Regions from separate parts of the Homo sapiens genome. Here all the other regions are linked to region 3. Evidence: promoter capture Hi-C in 16 types of primary human blood cells and fetal thymus (Javierre and others, 2016). All regions are on one chromosome and are shown on one strand. The core of a region is centred on a gene start or on the middle of the fragment in contact, and the rest is flanking DNA. Distances in the headings are between cores, read along the strand shown.

What was found. The method cuts DNA at HindIII sites, captures the fragments that hold promoters and counts their contacts. A CHiCAGO score of 5 or more calls a contact.
Region 1: a fragment that was not itself captured here is called in contact with the fragment with the promoter of RWDD1 in region 3 in 1 of 17 cell types (total B cells); the score reaches 5.1 in total B cells.
Region 2: a contact is called between a fragment that was not itself captured here and the fragment with the promoter of RWDD1 in region 3, in 15 of 17 cell types (naive CD8 T cells, total B cells, fetal thymus and 12 more). The highest score is 17.6, in naive CD8 T cells.
Region 4: a contact is called between a fragment that was not itself captured here and the fragment with the promoter of RWDD1 in region 3, in 14 of 17 cell types (naive B cells, total B cells, fetal thymus and 11 more). The highest score is 19.4, in naive B cells.
Region 5: a fragment that was not itself captured here is called in contact with the fragment with the promoter of RWDD1 in region 3 in 7 of 17 cell types (neutrophils, total B cells, M1 macrophages and 4 more); the score reaches 10.2 in neutrophils.
Region 6: a fragment that was not itself captured here is called in contact with the fragment with the promoter of RWDD1 in region 3 in 2 of 17 cell types (total B cells and naive B cells); the score reaches 6.9 in total B cells.
Region 7: a fragment that was not itself captured here is called in contact with the fragment with the promoter of RWDD1 in region 3 in 1 of 17 cell types (total B cells); the score reaches 5.4 in total B cells.

What each region holds. Positions count from the first base shown.
Region 1 is chr6:116,164,234-116,166,933 of GRCh38, reverse strand. All of the region lies in intron 6 of NT5DC1 (5'-nucleotidase domain containing 1), which reads right to left. It also overlaps a transcript of COL10A1 not described here. Among named protein-coding and RNA genes, the nearest start is that of COL10A1, 39 kb to the right of the region's middle. The HindIII fragment of the contact is 1,434 bases long and covers 686-2,119 here.
Region 2 is chr6:116,290,177-116,292,876 of GRCh38, reverse strand. It overlaps a transcript of DSE not described here. Among named protein-coding and RNA genes, the nearest start is that of TSPYL1, 12 kb to the right of the region's middle. The HindIII fragment of the contact is 6,300 bases long and covers 1-2,700 here.
Region 3 is chr6:116,570,114-116,572,813 of GRCh38, reverse strand. RWDD1 (RWD domain containing 1) reads right to left here and starts at 1,310. Exons shown (of 7, transcript NM_015952.4): 1 at 1,159-1,310. The coding sequence starts at 1,231. RefSeq lists enhancers at 1,056-1,155, 1,376-1,705, 1,736-1,915 and a silencer at 1,256-1,335. The HindIII fragment of the contact is 4,586 bases long and covers 1-2,700 here.
Region 4 is chr6:116,224,968-116,227,667 of GRCh38, reverse strand. The region is part of intron 8 of NT5DC1 (5'-nucleotidase domain containing 1); the gene reads right to left. Among named protein-coding and RNA genes, the nearest start is that of TSPYL4, 28 kb to the left of the region's middle. The HindIII fragment of the contact is 5,275 bases long and covers 1-2,700 here.
Region 5 is chr6:116,204,542-116,207,241 of GRCh38, reverse strand. All of the region lies in intron 6 of NT5DC1 (5'-nucleotidase domain containing 1), which reads right to left. It also overlaps a transcript of COL10A1 not described here. Among named protein-coding and RNA genes, the nearest start is that of TSPYL4, 48 kb to the left of the region's middle. The HindIII fragment of the contact is 1,304 bases long and covers 682-1,985 here.
Region 6 is chr6:116,185,875-116,188,574 of GRCh38, reverse strand. All of the region lies in intron 6 of NT5DC1 (5'-nucleotidase domain containing 1), which reads right to left. It also overlaps a transcript of COL10A1 not described here. Among named protein-coding and RNA genes, the nearest start is that of COL10A1, 61 kb to the right of the region's middle. The HindIII fragment of the contact is 2,343 bases long and covers 105-2,447 here.
Region 7 is chr6:116,125,960-116,128,659 of GRCh38, reverse strand. All of the region lies in intron 6 of NT5DC1 (5'-nucleotidase domain containing 1), which reads right to left. COL10A1 (collagen type X alpha 1 chain) reads left to right here and starts at 2,528. Exons shown (of 3, transcript NM_000493.4): 1 at 2,528-2,607. RefSeq lists a silencer at 200-494. The HindIII fragment of the contact is 2,449 bases long and covers 113-2,561 here.

The DNA.
Region 1 (2,700 bases), core at 153-2,652, 410 kb after region 3:
TACTTCCTTGGCTCAATTCTTTGGCTCAATTCTGAATAACAAAAAATTATTCTCATTTCAAGGTCAGATTCCAGACATTTCAGAATTTCAGTCCTTTCGTCTTTAAATAGAAACCACTGTGATGAAGTTTACATCAGGGAACCATTTTTATCTCTTACATAATTTAAGTAACTACTAGATAAAAGATGAAAAGTCTCTGAAACTTTAGTAGAAATTTCTCATGGATTTAGATAAATAACTGAATTAACTTTTGAAATACACTACTGACTTGGTTTTAAGAGTGTTTTTTATCAGCATGTAGAAAAGGATGTCAGCAGTGAAAACCTCAAGGGAAATATCTGGGAAACTGGGTAAATGGAGATCGATGCCAGGAGTTTCTCACTCTCTGATGGCCCAACACTCAGCCTCTAGCAATTCATCACAATTACTAGTCAAATATCCACTATTCCCAATACCATTTACAGAAGACAAAATCCTTCTTCCATTGTGATTTCTTAGCACCTTTGTTGAAGATTGGTTGATCCATTCCTTTATGTTTTTAATTAGAACTGAATATCCAACCACCATGTATCAAAATTGTTGGTTAGGAGGAATCTGGATGGCTGACTAGGGATTTTGGATGTCAGTTATCCTCAGAGAGAAGATCAAAGACATAGATGAATGGTCATGATCTGAATGGAAAGCTTAGGGAAGATAGCCAGGATCTGTTGGAGACCCCACTGGTTGATGTGGGGTTGCAGAAAAGGAAAGCAGCAAGAGTCTCGCAGAGATTGACTCCCGAGAACCTCTGAATCCCGCCTGAAGGGTAGGTTGGGGTGCTTCTCTTCTCCCTTCACCCCTGCAATAAGCTGCTGACTGCCAAATTGTCAGGGAGCCTTTCTACCTTCATGACCCCAGGCAATGCTGTCAGTGCGGATTTAGGATCTTCCTGGGGACAGAGCACAGAGTGGCTAGTTTGTGCAGGTATCCCCTCACTCCCCTCAAGCCTGAGCTGAGAGGACAGACACCATACTGGTTGTGCATTCATTGTGGGCTACTACCCTGCATGGGGAATCTCAGCCCAAGTTGTTGCAATCACCAGTACCCTGCAAACATAGCCCAGAACCTGCTCTGACTTGACAACCACAGGGGACCAGCAGGTCCCTGGGGAGCTGTGGGATTTCCAGACATTCAGCCCTAAGCACAGGCTGCCCCTAGAAGAGGGGGAAGTGCGGCCCACTAAGAACCCCCTTGGGACAAAGGAAATGCAGGTACAAACTGATCACTGAATGGGGTGGTACTGGTGGTTGGTAACAGATGTAGAGGGGGGTCATCTCCTGCTCCCTCAGTCCACTGTTGTGGATGTAGGAGAGGCATTTTTCGAATTAACCCAGTCAGACAAAAATAGAAAAGAGAATTTTAAAAAATGAACAAATCCTTTTAAAAATACAGGACTATGTGAAGTCACCAAATCTATAATTTATAGGTATTCCTGAGAAAGAAGAAGAAAAAGTAAGCAATTTGGAAAACATATTGGTAGAAAGAATTCAGGAAAATTTCCCTGATCTTGTTAGAGATATAGAAATCCATGTGGAAGAAATCCAGAACACCAGTGAGATATGATATAAGGTGAACATCACCAAGGTATATAGTTATCAGACTATCCAAGGTCAATGCTAAAGAAAAAATCTTAAACGCCACTAGAAAAAAGGATCAAATCACCTATAAAGGAAATCCTATCAGACTAACAGCAGATTTCTTAGCAGAAACTGACAAGCCAGAAGAGACAGGGATCTAGTTTTAGACTTCTTAAAGAAAAATAATGCCAGCCAATAATTTTTTTTTTTTTTTTTTTTCTGAGACGGAGTCTCGCTCTGTCGCCTAGACTGAAGCGCAGTGGTGCAATCTCAGCTCACTGCAAGCTCCGCCTCCCAGGTTCACGCCATTCTCCTGCCCCAGCCTCCCGAGTAGCTGGGACCACAGGCACCCACCACCATGTCCGCTAATTTTTTGTATTTTATTTATTTATTTTTTTAGTAGAGACGGGGTTTCACCATGTTAGCCAGGATGGTCTCGATCTCCTGACCTTATGATCTGCCTGCCTCGGCCTCCCAAAGCGTGTATCTTTTTAAACTAAGCTTCATAAATGAAGCAGAAATAAAGTATTTCCCAAACAAACAAATGCTAAGGAAATTTGTCACCACTAGACCAGTACACCAAAAATGCTAAAAGGAAACAGAAAGATGATACTTGCTACCACAAAAGCACACGTAAGTACAAAGTTCACACATCCTATAAAATAATTACATAATTGAGGCTACAAAGCAACTAGCTAACAATATTAGGCAAGGAACAAAACCTCACATATGCATATTAACCTTGAACATAAATACTTGAAAGAGATAGATTAGCAAATTGGGTAAGAAAAACAAGATTCAACCATCTGCTGCCTAAAAGAGACCCACATAATGTATAAAGACATACACAAGCTCAAAGTAAAGGGGTGGAGAAAGATATATCATGCAAATGGGGAACAAAAAAGACCAGGGGTTGCTATTCTTATGTCAGATAAAATAGACTTTAAACCAACAAGAGTAAAAAAAGACAAAGAAGGGTATGATACATGATAAAGACTTCAACTCAATAAGAAGATTTAACTATCCTAAATATATACATTACCCAACACCAGAGCACCCAGATTTATAAAAGTACTACTACACC
Region 2 (2,700 bases), core at 195-2,694, 280 kb after region 3:
TTATTAAAATATAATTAGCATATACTTATTGGTCTGCAATGTTCTTTTACATCTTTCTAATTAACATGGATGCTTTTCCAGGTCACTACTTTGGATCCAATTTATTCCTTTTAAAGGTTACGTAATATTCAGTTGTATAAACATGCCATAATTTATCCAACCTTTCTTCTACTTACTGACATTCAGTTTGTTTTCTTTTTTTTTGTTTGTTTGCTTCCTCAACACTTCAGTGTAATAATCAGATCCTTACTCTGCTCCCAACAATGCTGCTCCCTACAAACATTCTTCCCTCAACCCTGCATCTCCTTGAACTTGTCATCCAGTCTTTCCCCTTTTCTATACTGACAATTATGAAAGAACTGGCCTCACACACTATCTATATGTTCATTTATCATTCATTTTTTCAACTCTGCAATTTTTCTGTCTTGCTACTTTTCTGAAATTGCTCTCACTAAAGACACCCATGCTGTATAGCTGCCGCCCAATTCGGAAACTTTTCTTCCCAGTCTTCATCTCACTCAATATGGCTGCATCCCTTGAACCTTAGCTTCCTGAAGTCCATTCTTCCCTTGCATACTGAAACAACACTCTTCTGGTTCTTTCCCTACCTCTAATGGCTATTTCTCAGTTTCCTCTACTTGTGCCACCTCATCTGTTTCTTTCACGTCAGTGTTCCTCAGAGCTCTATTTTTGGCCTTCCTTTCTTCTTCCTCTACTTGTCTTCCTGGTGTTCTCGTCCACTCTGATGATGTCAACTATCACCTAAACACTCAAGATTTCCAAGTCTAACTGTAAACCCCACTCTTCTCCTGCTCTACAAATACCCAAATCTATCTGATCTACAAATACCCAACATCTCCCTAGAGTCACATGAAACTCTCCTTGTCTGTAGCTGAACTGTTGATCTCTCCTCCCACTACAACCCGATCTTCTTCCTGTATTCCATAACTCAATCACATTTCCACCCATCCTTGTTACCCAAACTAAACAAATCAGTCTTCCTTAACTTCTTGTCTACTTTCATATCTAGTTTTTCAATTGGTTCTACAATTTATCTGACATATTCTGTTGTCAGTTACTACATTCCTAAAGATATCCTCATCTACCCTTGCCTGCATTTTTATAATACTTCACAACTGATATCCCAGCCTTTAATCATATAACCTTCACATCATTTTCCATATGGCAATTAATATTATTTTCTGACACTGTCCATGTCAATCCCCTGTTTAAAAGCCTCCAATATCCTCTAATACCCATAGGATTAACAAATATGTATATATATAATTATATTTAATATATCATAAACATATAATAATGTATAATAAAAAGCCTTTAACTATCAGATTCCATTTTACCTAACCATCACCCCCAACTAATCTCCCTATCTTTCAGTCATTTCCTCAAGCTGGCTGGACTTCTACTTGTATTTGAGTCTTTGTTCAGGGTATTTTAGTCAACCTGGAATTTTCACCCCCTCTCTCTTATTATAATTTTATTTTTCTTATTAGGACTCATCTCAAAATTATCACCTCTGAATTCTTACCAAGCTCTCTTATCAATATAGGAATACAAATTTCCTATTCTGTGCACCCAAAGCCCTTTGTCCACATCTCTCTTGCTGGAACAACACTCTCCTAGTATTATAATTATTGGTATCATCTGGTATTATAATTGTTTGTTTCATCTGGTATTATAATTATGTGTTTCTGTGTCTATCTTCTCCACAACACTGTGGTCCCTAATGAACAAAGTCCATGACTTTCAGATTTTTGTATGCCATCCCACAACTCTTGTGTCCTGCATAAACCTCAACAAATGTTTTGAATTTAGAGAGTTTGGAAAGAACAGACGAAGTGGTCTGGTCTCAAGTCTACGCCTCCAATCTTCTGTGCTACAGATGACATTGCAGAGCACAGTGGTGGCCAGAAAATTGAGCAAACTTAGAATGGGTGCTTTGTTTACTTTTTTGCATTCATAATGCAGTTCTAGGATCAGCATTCAATCAACAATTTCACTGAGGTTGGCTGGAAAAAGTTTCTCCCTTTGGGAGAGAAGTTAGCAGTTAAGAGGATTCCTTTCTGCTTTTGGAATTAGGGAAATATTTCCAATTATGAGAGACCACAAATGGGTAGATGATATACTAAGTGGGAAGGATGCAGATTGTCTCTTCTCAGGATGAGTTTTAAGGAATTATTTCCAAATAAGACTTCATGTATTTCCTGATAACAAACCTTGATTTTCAATAATTGCTCCTGAGTGTAGAACAGTACAAATTAATAAAATATTTATTTGCTAGAGCTCTTATATCCTTGAATTAATTAATCAGCAAGTGAAATCTCTGAACCCCAAGTCTGAGAATCTAGAAATACTGTTAATTTAGAAATATCAGCAGTAGCAGGAGATATTACTTTTAAAATGTGCCCCACATTTAGTAAATGCTTCCCCTGAGGGCACTTAACTCCTAAAAACCATATGTCCTGTTTAGATTAATATATTATAATTAAAGTTTCCATGGCTGTTTAAGCTAGCCATCAGTGTGGAATCATTCAATCAATGCAGCCAACACTGCCTAAGAATCTTCTAGGTGCTAGGCACTAATGATACAGATCCAAGAAAACGAAGTTATTAGAAAATAGGTGGCAGTAACCCTTGAGTTCCCCGGTTACTGTCAAAGATTTCAAGAAATCAGAAAAGCAA
Region 3 (2,700 bases), core at 61-2,560:
GTCAAAAGGTGAAGCCAAGAAAACTAAGCTAAACAATGAAAGGGAGAGGGGTTGGAATTTATAAGTTAAAGTAATATACCTTACACTATAAATTCTGACTATCAACGATAGGCAACACTCAAAGGAAAGGATGGGGAATGTAAATGCACACACCTAGGTTCTACTCACTCATATTGGCTTTATTTGACCGCTTCTCAAATCTCAGAGGAGCCATATTGATATAGTTATGTAGCATTTTTATAATCATCCGAAGCATGGCTTAATAGAGAAATCTCGTCCTCTAAATTATACCTAATGAACTTCTCATTATAATATTTTACATTAGCCCAACCTACCAAGTAATCTTCTGCTCTCTCAATCTCAGCTGGAGCTGAATCCCAAGTCCCATATGTCTGGAAAGTGAAAGAACAGGCAAGCGTTCTGGACGTATAACTCAGTACCAGCCCTGCCGCTAACTCGCTGGCGGACAGTACAGAGCAAGCCACTTAGCTTTCCTGAACCCCCATGACCTTGGCTTGGAGCAGGAGCCCCAGGATAGATGATGTTTAATCTCCCTTCCAATCTAACAACCTATGAATTTATAGCAGAACGGAAATTTGGGCCACATTATCCATTAGGCATTCTGCTGAATGCCAGATTTTTTTTTTTTTCATAAGAAAAGAAACCCGACAGACTTCAGGGACTATGCTACTCTCAAAACCGATTTGAGTAACTGAAAACAGCACTCTGAATCCTATAAACTAAAACAGCATCGTATGAAAAACAGTTTCTACCTTAATAAAGCTAAAAATGTGAAAACTAACATTCTTGCGGCTGTGGAAAAACGAATCGCACTTGGAGTATTTTTTCTCTTAATGTATTATAAATCTCAGGTTGCTGTAGGTTACACAGAAACCAAAGTAATCCCGACTCAATTTTCAGGCCTGACACCCTCCAACATCACCCGGACTTTTAGATTTCCGGGAACAAGCAGAGAAGGAGAAAAAGTCACTGGGTTGCTGGTAAGTGACTGAAGAACTTGAGGAGTGGAGGGCAAGGTGGCCGCGCGGCCTCAAGGTCCCCTTCTCCACCCCAACCTATGAGGCCCAGAGCTGCGGCAGCTCCTGCCCGTCCTACTCCACCTCGGGGCGGCTACAGGCTTGCGGCCGCGGGAGTCACCTGTGAAGGAGTCAGGGTAGATGGACTCCAGGGCCTCCAGCTCGTTGCGCTGCTCCTCGCCGTAATCTGTCATCGTGGCCCTTGCTCTTGCCCATAGATCGCCCAGACACCTAGGCGGCGCGCAGCAGCCCAGACAGCTGCCGCGCCGGGAGAGCGGGCGGCGGCCAGGCGGGCGCAGGCGCAGAGTCCCCGGCTGGAAGGCCCAGGGCCCAAAGCCAGACCCGGCTTGCTTAACTGCAGCTCCGCGCCGGCCTCCGCCTGCTCCCTACTTCCACGTTCGACTCGTTCTGCCTGGCCAGGGGGCACTGATTTGCTGCCTGTCCCACACTCGCTCGGGACTTGCTGGGACGGTGCGCGCGGTCTGGCATTCGCCAAGGACACCTACAGCCGGCTCCTGGGCTTTGCAGGGCCTGAGCCTTAGAAGCCTCTCAGCGCTGCATCCTCGCTCGATGAGTCTGGGCTGAAAGGCCGGCATCGCGCGTCAGTGAAGGATAGTGTCGCTGGTGGCCGGGCTGGGGCGAGGGGCGTCCGATGCCTTCACCTTTTCTGGTTTCCGGTTTGACGCCGTGGCGTAGGTGCTGCGGGCTTGCAACCTAGTGTGGACTGGTGGGGCTCAGGAGATTTCTGAGCTTCTCGAACTCCGTATTGCTTGGCGTCCTACGGGAGTTGGACGAGAGGCTGGGACCAGTGTAGATTCCACTGGGCAGGGGAGCAAAAGCTCTGCACTGCCTTGAATGAGTATGGAAGGGTCGGTCTAACTGCTTAATAAGTCGGGGTGGATCCAGGAGGGAGAAATAGACCGGAGGTCCGGCTTCTCGGTTCAGATCTTTAGGCTTAACTTCTGATTTTGTGAAATGAACGCAGCTGGACGTATGATAGATCTCAAGATGTCTGTGATTGTGTATTTGTGAATTGATGAAAGGAATGTAGATCTCAGTAATAACAATTATCATATGCAATGTAAAAATTGCAGTACCCCGAGAAATGTTGAGAACCTTTAATTTGGTAATACGACTTCCAAGAATAAACTTGAGCAAGTAGCATGCATCTGTGATCTCCAAAATCATTGCAGCAATTACAAAGAAAATTTTCAAAGAACCATGATGGCAAAAGCTAAGAAAATGGCTAAATAAACATGGTTAGCTTTATGAAAATGATATTAAAAACTATGGTAACAATAATAAAGGATCCCATGTTCCTTTATTATATTATTGCGCTAAGTCGAAAAATGGAAAATTTTAAGAAAATACTCAAAAGCTGTTGCCCACTTTTCTGTATTTTTCTTTGTTTTGATTTCTCTGTATTAAAGCTGGTTTCACTGGTATAGTGGGAGGAACACTTTTTAAATGAAAGATTCCTAATGATGAAGCCCCTGAAGCACCAGAAGGCACCTTGATCTTTTATTGAGGAGTGCTGCTTACCTATAGCAGAGGAACACTTTGATACTGATTCCGTGTTTACGGTATTAAGGGTTGATTTCAGGCGTTCTTTTAAACTTTAATGAAAAAGTGGAGTCTCCTAACTATGATGACAATCAAATAA
Region 4 (2,700 bases), core at 138-2,637, 350 kb after region 3:
CATACCTATTAGAATGGCTGTTATCAAAAAGACAAAAGATAAGTGTTAAAGAGCATGTGGAGAAAAGGGAATCCTTGTACATTCTTGGTGGGATTGTAAATTAGTTTAGCCATTACGGAAAAAAGTGTGGAGGTTCTTCAAAATAATTAAAAACAGAACTACCATATGATCCAGCAACTCCAATACTGAGTATATATGCAAAATGTATGAAATTGGTATGTTGAGCTATCTGCACTCCCATGTTCATTACAGCATTATTCACAAAAGATATGAAATCAACCGAAATGTCCATTAGCAGATTAAAGGATAAAGAAAATATGGTATATATACATAATGGAATACTATTTGACCTTAACAAGAAAGAAATCCTGTCATTTGTGACAACATGGATGAACCTGGAGGACACAATGTTAAGCAAAATAAGCCAGGCACAGAAAGACAAATACCATATGATCTCACTTACATTTGGAATGTAAAAAAGCCAAACTCATAGAATCAGAAAGTAAAATGGTGGTTATGTGAGGCTAGGGGTAGGGGTATTAGGAGATGTTGGTCAAAGGACACAAAATTTCAGGTAGGAGGAATAAATCCATAAATCCAAGAAATATATTGTACAAAATGCAGAGTTAAAAATAATATATTGTATATTTGAAATTTACTAAGAGAATAGATTTTAAGTGTTCTTACCACACACACAAAAAATGATAATGTGAGGTAATACCTATTTAAATAGTATCATTTAGCCATTCTACAATCTATATATATATCAAAATACCATGTTGTACAACATAAATATATAATTTTTACTTGTCAATTAAAAAATAAATGAAATACAAATTAGAGAAAGTAGAAATTAAAAAACTAAGTGTTTATACAACCCAAAATGTAAAACAATTTTTTAAAATGGTATATTTATTATCAGGATGTGCTTATTTTTAAAGTTTAGATTCCTAATATTTCCATACCATAAATTCAATCAAAAAGACTTTCAAGTCTTTTGATGAGTATAATATTTAAAAATATATAGTTTGGATAAACATCATTATTATGTCAGCCCTCAAATCCAATTGTACTATACAACTAACAGAAAATACTGCACAGAAGTCTTAAGATAGGTACTTCTAAAGTAATCGTTTTTTAAAAACTCCACCCTTTTTCTCAGGATACTCTCAATTAAATAGAGAAAAACTACATAAAATGCTGTAAATTGTCAGCATATTTAATGCATTTATAATTTCCAACATGTTAAAAAAAACTTGGTATATTTTTAACGTGCAGTTTTCCATTAATTGTATCTTTGTGTGAAATTTTAATAAAAATCTTATGGAATGGCATAAATACTACTATGGGTATAAAAGGGGTATAGATTTTCTTGGAACAAAATATGCAAACCCCACAAAAATAAAAATAAAAACAAATATTTATTGGGTACTTACTTATATATTTAAATGTAAGTTTGTAAAGTAGGGAAAAACATTTAAATTTTTTTCTGGTTTAATTATAAGAATATTATTAGAATTCTTGATAACAGATTATTTCTTAATATCAAGGATTTTATTATATAAGACTTTAAACCAATATATAAAAACAACATCAACCTATTTCTTTGTACTAGACTAGGGTTTCTTAGCCTTGGCACTACTGAGATTTGGGGCTAGATAATTCTTCGTCGTTGGGGGGTGCTGTCCTGTGTGCTGTAGGCTGCTTAGCAGCACACCCAGCCTCCACCCCCCTCCAAAGTTGCGACAACCAAAAACGTCTCCAGACATTGCCAAATTTGCACTGAAGGGCAAAACTGCCACCGTTGAAAACCACTGCAGCAGATCATTCTCATCAGCACATATACATATTCCAGTATCTTCGATCTTAAAAAAATAAAATATGCCCTTAATCCTACACTGTCTTCTAGCTAAAACCTCAATTCTTTGACTGCCTTTAGAGCTAAAATTCTAGAAAGAGCTGCACATATACCCTGGTTCCATACCTCCAATGAACTACTCAAGATACTGCAATTTAGTTTCTATCCCACCACTCTATGGCAACTGTTCACTGAGGCACTAGTGATCTCCATCTTGTCCACCCCAGGGAAGATTTCTCCTTCCTCATTTCAGTGGACTTTTTCTGTAGCATTTGGACTAGCTGGCTACCCTTTCCTCTTTCCTCTGGCTTCTGAACACGTATTCTACTGTTTTCCCTACTATAATCTATCTGCTGCCACACTGCACTCTTTCTTCTCTATCTTTAATATTAGAGAATGTCAGGGCTTGGTCCAGGCCTTTTGCCTATCTACATTCTCTCAATATTTGGTTTCATATAATCCCCTGGCTTCAAATACCTATCTATGAGCTGATTACTCCCAATACATATCTTGAGCCTAGACTTGTTCCCTTGGACTCCAGGCATATTTATACAATTTCCTAATTGATAGTGACAGTTACATAACTCATAGGCATCTCAAAATTAACATGTTGAAAAATGAGTTCTTAACAGATATAACCCCTACTCCACACAACTTTATCCTCTGTATTTTTCCCCAAGTCTGTAAATGGTACCACCATCTACTCACTTGCTCATTTGAGGAAAAAGAAAAATCAACCACCTGGAAGTTATTTTTTATTACTCCTTTCTTTTTGTCTGCTGTTTCTTTAAGTATCACCGAGCCCTCTGTGTTTTCCAACTCCATAATGTATTTAAATGTAT
Region 5 (2,700 bases), core at 84-2,583, 370 kb after region 3:
ATATGATCCATTTATTGAGTGCATACCTTCAATCTTTCAGAATAAAGTGGAAGAAATCTGCTGTAGGCAGGGAATAGGTATAGTTATTAATGCAGAGATATCAGCTCCCAGAGGATCTGAATAAAACAATATTGTAATAATGAAACTATTTTCTAATAAAAAATTACATTCTTTTGACCTAGGAAAAAGTTTGTTAAGAAAGCATATGACATAAGTGATCAGACTATTTATTTTTAAAAGGAAAGATGTCAATATAAATCCAGAGAACTTTAAATTCTAGAATTACTCAATAAACAAGAAGAAAACATTTAAAATCCAATTTAAATGAGACAAATATTTTGCACACAATTATTTGGCAAATGTTAGCAATAAACACTAAATGCCCTATGTGTATTCAATGAAGAAAAATGTGAGTAAAGAGGAAACTGCACTAGACTTCGACCAATTAACAGTTTATCTAAAAACTATGGCAAAGAAAATGTTTTGCCCTCCAGATATAAAATCCATTTAAAACATCAAAAGGAACTTTATCTAAATGTCTCATGCCAGCAAATTAAATCATTATGGAGCAGGGTAGGAGGGATGGCAGAAAGAAATTCATAATTTGCAGGTGACTTCATTAAGAAACAGCTGTTGCTGTTGATGTAAGGAGAGTTGCTATTCCATTTCTACTGAAAAGCTTCAGAGCACAAAGTTCTGTACCAGAGTAGACACACAGATAAAAGTATATTACAGGATATGGTCTCCAGTGTTCCTGGGTGGTATGGACCCAAATCAGACAGTCTTGAGTCAAGTCTTAGTTGTGCAATTTCCTTGGGTAAGTGCTTTAGTCATTGAGAGACTGTTGGCTTATCTATAAAATGATCACAGTTATAACACTCACCCCATTAGGTAATTGTGTGAATTATATGCAATGATATATGTGAAACATTTAGCACAATGCTTTACACATAGTAAAAATTTTGTGTTAGAGCTATTTTTACTTTAACAAGTTCCTCTGGCCTAAGTACAGGCAGTTGATTAACCACGAAATGCTATGGGCCACACTGCATCATGGAATTGCCCTGCATGGGCCCAAAATGCAAGATTTCCCTTATCAAAATGCTACTTACCTTCAAAACATATTTTGAAACATATGCTATGAAAAAACCCTAAAAGTCCTACTGAGCAGGAGGCAGGGTGGTTCTACTTTTTGTTACTTCCAGGAAAAAACACTGGGCTAGATGGTCCAATGGTCTATTAGATCATTCTCAAAGGACTGAGCAGAGAAACTTGGGGTAGCTATTAGAACCTTGGGGACCACAAAACCTAATCTCATTGTGCAGATATGAAAATGAGGCCTAGAGAGGCTGACTTGCCTATCATCATGACATAATGAGGAAAACAGCAGGATGGAATGAAAATCTTGGTCTCTTTGATTTTTTCATTACACATTCCTTACTGTCATATCTACTAATCTTATTGTTTTATCCCCTTTATTAAGACATATTACAGCCTTGTTGTAAAGATGTAAATACAATTAGTGAAAAATTTAAAATGTACCCTTTTAATACAAAATCAGAATAAAGACGGAAACTACACAAACAGCTGGTTTATTCTTAAAGAAATGTATAAAATATCTGAACAGCCTTTTTTCCCCCCCAATTTATTCCACATATTTAAGGAATTTCCTTTGGGAAGACTAGGTCTAGCAAGATCAGATGCTCTGTATATCTGTGTAGAGACTGTGGGGCTCCAGAGGGAGAAGCTGCTGACTCAGTTAAGTTCCAACCTACCAGATAACAGGGAAATTATCTTTCTAAGGTTAAATGTTATTTTAAAATTATCTCGTAATTACTCAAGTAAGATATGTGAACACTTCCAAATTTCCAAATATATGTTCTAAATTTTGAAACATAAAAAAAAAGTCTGAAGTCTTCTCTAAATAGTACTCTCAGTTTCTGGTCCCTAGTATCATTGTTGTCATTTTAGTGTCACACCAAGCTTGTCCAGCCCAGCTTATTTTGTTGTTGTTCTATTTTGTTTTGTTTTAGGCTTTTAGCAGCCTGAAGACATGGTTTTTAGTTTCTGTCTGTAATGATAAGCAGAAAAGAGGGATGAGGAAGGGGTTTTACCGGCCTAACCAGAAACAGAAACTAAGAACCCATGAATGTATTATTTGCTTGGACACTTCTGCACTGTATACTTTTCAGATAAATTTCTACGGACTTGCATACACACATATGTAGTTCACATTTTGGTGTGTATCTTTCCAATAAGGTGTTATGGACTTACACACACATATACATGTATTTTCTAGTACACATTTTGTGCAATTTGCTTTCCTCACCCAAAAAAATGACTTCAAAATCTAGCCACGTACTTAAATCTAGCCATGTAATTATAACAAATAATTACTGAGCACCTACTACACACTATTCATTGTTCTACTTGTTGAAAACATGGACAAAGTTTTTTCTCTCATAGACCTTACATTCTAGAAACGCTTCATTCTTTTTAACCACAACATTGCAATCCAGCATATGAATACAACAGTACTTTGGTGATTTTTTTCATTATAAATTCTGGAGTAAACAACATTGTATCTGAGTCCATGTATACATATGAGTACTTCTTTAGGGCTTATAAATGTTAAACGGCTGGCTCATTGCATATCTGCGTTTCTAATCTTAATATTTACACTGAGTTTGCTTTCAGAAT
Region 6 (2,700 bases), core at 27-2,526, 380 kb after region 3:
TATCTATTTTATAAATGCAACCATAGAATATGTATATCCTGTATTACTGGCTTTTTCTCTCTCATTTTCTGTTTTTAAGATTCATTCATGTTGTTCATAAAGCTTCATTTTCATTGATGAATAGAATGTCACTGTATGACACACTGCATAGCAACTGCACTATTGAGGGATATTTGGGCTGTCTCTAATTTGGTGTAATAGTGAATGCCACTAAGAACATTCTGGATGGTATATATTGCAGCCTAATATGGCTGTGTCATAGGGAATGCTCACTTTCAACTTTATAGGATAATACTCAACAATTTTCAAAACCAACTCAACAATTTACACTCCCACCAGCAGTTTAAGGGTTCTCTTTGCTTCACATCCTCACCAACCACTGAAATCACTAGATTCTTTAATTCCAACTATTCTGATGGATATCTAGTGGTACCTCATTGAACTTTAATTAGCACTCTCATGACTGTTAATAAGCATAAGCACATTTTCATGTTTATTGGCCATTTAGAGTTCCCTATTTGTAAACTGCCTGTCAAGACTTTTGTTCATTTTCTACTGGGTTGCTGTCTTCCTGTTACTGATTTATAGGTCTTTTTTACACTAGATAAAAGTCTTTTTATCATTATATGTATTCCAAATATCTTCTCTTCTATAACTTGCCCTTTCGTTCTTAGTAATTTTTTATGAAGAGAGACGTTTAATGTTTGTCAAATTTATTCACTTTTCCTTTACAATCAATCAATACTGTTTCTATCCTATTTAAGAAATATTTCATTATCTTTAAGCTATGAAGCTATTTTTCTCAGATTTTCTTCTGATAGCTTTACTGATTTGCCTTTCATATTTGTTTCTATAATCCATGTGAAATTGATTTTTGTCTAATATGTGAGTAGGGATCAAGTTTTATGAATTTCTACATAGATTTCCAACTCTCCAGGCACCCTTTATGACAGTCCTTTCCCCACTGCTCTGCTGTACCTGTTCTGTCATCAAGCATGTGTCTACAACTGCAAAGGTCTTTTCTGGCATCTCCGGTTCAGTGATCTTCTAGTTGTCAGTCTTTATACCAAAAGCACTCTGACCAAATTACTGTAACTTTAAAATAAGCCATGAATTATTTGCTAGTGTCTTGTAGGACAGACCCTCTTGCCCTGTTCTTCATGAGTGTCTTGGCTCTTCATGGCCCTTTTCATTTCCATATAAATTGTGGCATGAGCTTCAGTTTTCTATAAAGAAACTTGTTAAAATTTTGGTTGGACTTAACAAAAATACAACTAATGACCCTCACAGAGTCCACTTCGCTCCCCTGCTACCTTTCCTGGAGCAGGTGCTGGTAGCCACAGCTAAGAGACCTGAATACAGATCACATCACAGGACTCTGTGCAGACACTTCCCAGTACCAGATCAAAGCCCAGTAGCTCTGCTGGGTGGCTAGATTCAGAGGAGAAATAGCATCACTGCAGTCTGGCTCTCAGGGAGCCATTTCTAGGGGAAAGGGGAGAACACCACAACAAGGGAGCACCCTGTGGGACAAAAGAATCTGAACGGTAGCCCTTGAGTCCCGGATCTACCATCTGACATAGTTTACCCAAATGAGAAGGAACCAGAAAAACAATTCTGGTAATATGACAAACATGGTTAACACCCCCAAAAGATAACACTAGCTCACCAGCAATGGATCCAAACTAAGACTAAATCTCTGAATTGCCAGAAAAAGAATTTAGAAGATCAACTATTAAGTCAATCAAGGAGGCACAAGTCCAACTTAAAGAAATCAAAAAAATGATACAGGATACGAATGAAAAAATCTCCAGTGAAATACATGGCATAAATAAAAAAGCAATCACAATTTCTGGAAGTCAAGGACACACTTAGAGAAATGCAAAATGCACTGGAAACTCGCAGCAACAGAATCGAACAAGTAGAAGAAAAAGTCAGAGCTCGAAGACAAGGCTTTCAAATTAACTCAATCCAACAAAGACAAAGAAAAAAGAATTAAATAAAAATGAACAAAGCCTCCAATAAGTTTGGGATTATGTTAAATGACCAAACCTAAGAACAACTGGTGTTCCTGAGGAAGAAGAGAAATCTAAAAGTCTGGGAAACATGTTTGAGGGAATAATCGAGGACAACTTCCCCAGCCTTGCTAGAGATCTAGGCATCCAAATACAAGCAGCTCTGGGAAGAACACCTGGGAAATTCATCGCAAAAAGATCACCACCTAGGCACACAGTCACCAGGTTATCTAAAGTGAAGATGAAAAAAAAAAAAAATCTTAAGAGCTATGAGACAAAAGCATCAGGTAACTTTTAAAGGAAAACCTATCAGATTAACAGCAGATTTCTCAGCAGAAACCCTACAAGCTAGACAGCATTGGGGTCCTACCTTTGTTCTCCTTAAACAAAATAATTATCATATAAGAATTTTGTATCCAGTGAAACTAAGCTTCATAAATGAAGGGAAGACACAGTCTTTTTTAGACAAACAAATGCTGCGAGAATTTGCCATTACCAAAAGAGAACTACAAGAACCACTATAAGAAGCTCTAAATCTTGAAAGAAATCCTTGAAATACACCAAAATAGAACCTCCTTAAAGCATAAATCTCACAGGATCTATAAAACAACAATACAATGAAAAAAATCCAAGGTTTTCAGGAAACAACTTGCAGGATGAATAGAATAGTATGCTACATCTCAAT
Region 7 (2,700 bases), core at 88-2,587, 440 kb after region 3:
ATATATATTATTCACCCAGTATTTATCTTAATGTCTAACACTTAAGAAGCACTTAAGAAACATAAGGTGAATTAATTAACGATCCACAGATGTACAAATGAATAGGCAAGCTTAATAGTAGCTAACTGCCAGATGTGAAAAAAATCATTATTCATATTTGATATTTAAAAAAATTACTCAGGTTATAGAGTTTAAAGAGTATGGCTCTCTGTTTTGAGTGGAATGGGTTTCCTTCATAAAGCCACAGACTAGTCACTTCAAACAGCTACAAGTAAACACCCAGAGTAAAAATAGTTTTAAATACACAATTGGGTGGGGTGTGGCTAGAAAATATTCTGATTCTACAATCTGTTTTGGACAAGACAGTGCTTCTTATGTGACTAACAAAGCAAACAGCAGTCAGATTCCTTGTGCTGAAATAAGTACACTATTTGCAAAAAGGGTTGAATGTCCAAGGCTTATTCAATAAGGACACCACATTTTCCAAAACTAAAGGGGAGTATAGAATGACAAATACCCACATATATTTACATATCCCTAAAAGAAGACATACAACCTCCTGGTATGGATTTTTTTGTGTCTCTAATAAGTACTAACTGGAGCCAAGTCTACCATCTGACCATGGAGAACAGCAGAATACCTCAAGCACAGGAATAATCTAATTTTAAAACTGGGAGGAGCTTAGAAACCACCTAGTCCAAACTTTTCATTGTGTTGATAAAAAACAGACACCCAGAGAGGTTAAAGTGAAAGGCTCTGAAAATTGTTGCAATAGCCACAGATGAACAAATGGTATACACAGGGGCATAGCACTATGTATTAAGAGCTGAGAATTAGTCTTCTGAACGTTCACGAGTGATAACTAACAGGGTATCAGTCTCAATTATAAGCAAATAGCAGTATGTGTGTGCATGTGTATCACCATATATACACACAAAATATTAAAATATATATTTTAATAATTCCTTTCAAAACAAATTCAACCTAGCATTCAAAAGCATCCATAAAGTTACCTCACCTACTTTTTCAAAATTGTGTCCAAATGGGCCATAAGCCAAAAGGCAGGTGTTTTCTCTCACTTATCTTTTGTAGTCTCCTACAGATGTAGCAGAGTACATATTATAATTACAAAAGCTATTCCATATATAATTTCCAAATGATGAATTATAAACTTTCCTATTTTGTTATTCTAAACTGCTATAAGAAACATATTTTATATGTATCTATGAGTATTATACAGAGATATATACAACAATGTAAATTTTTTTAATATGGCAATCAACAAAATGCTTACAAGCAAGAGGAGAGAGGCAATGAGATGCCTTATCCATTTACATTTCCATAAAGGGCTATACAAGGCTTTGTTTAAAATACAGAAAATTGCTTGAAGGGGAGAGAAAGGGAAAAGAAAAAGGACAAATCTTTAGTTCATTCACTGGTCAAACTTTCAATTATTTCAATTATTGATTAGTCCTGAATCCATACTACTTTAATTCTGTGGAGGTAGAAAAATGATGTGTCTATGCCTGTGTATGGAATTGTCCTCCTCAACCAGTTCACCTGCATAGTCAATTTGATTTTGATTCAAAACGATGAAATTAAATAAGATGAAAAATTTGGACTCTCAACTTCCCACCTTTATTAGATTTTTTAGGATCCTAAAAACTGATTTTAAAGGCTTCCTAATATTGTTAAACAGAGTCTAACTACCAAAATTGACAACAATAGTGTTTACTTCCACCTTTGAGGGAAAGTGTTTCTAATTGGGATGATTCCTAACTGCAAGTTAAGCCAATAATATTTTTTTTAAGCTGAAAGCAAAGTTTGAAAATTTTTTTCTCCTGAAATAAACACAGCAATCTTATGTAAATTAACATAATATGAGATTATCAAATTAAGGGGTTTTTGCAAACTCTACTGCAACTCTAAAGTAAACCCAAATTTAAGCAAGAAAATCTGAAGTCATTTACTGAATATAGCGTAGTGTTGTGAATAAGGGATCTAAATCCTAAAAGCCTAAAAGTAATTAAGAATTGGGGTCAGCTATTTTCACAAAAATTTATGAATATTAATAGACACATTGATAACTTTATGTAATAACTCAATAATTTAGATGATGGTCTAAATCCAGTACCCCCTTCAAGGAATTTTATCCGCTTTTATGTACTACCACATATTATATAATATCAACCAATTAACATAAGAATGTGCTTTTCAAAAATAAAAAGGGGGTATCATCATTCCACCGTGAACCAGCCTGAACACTAGAGTATTAATTAATAAAATAGAATCACAGACAAAGACGGTCCTTGGTTAAAACTATTAATATATATTTAAGACAATGGGTTTATTTTTAAATAAGAAAACAAGGAAAAGGAGAGCCCAGCCCGATCTTGTGTGCCTACCCAATAGAACTTTCCACCATAATTAGTGCTTACCAACTTTGAGGGGAGGAGCTTAAGCTCAGGGTAACCTCATGTAGTAAGGGAAAAACAGTATAAATACCACTGAACAGCTCTTGAGAGGCACCTTCTGCACTGCTCATCTGGGCAGAGGAAGCTTCAGAAAGCTGCCAAGGCACCATCTCCAGGAACTCCCAGCACGCAGGTAAGCGTACGCTTACTGGTGGACTTCCATGTTAACTTGCTTGGAAAGAAACTTTAAAGATTTAAATACTTGAGTTTTCTCAAGTATTAGAAG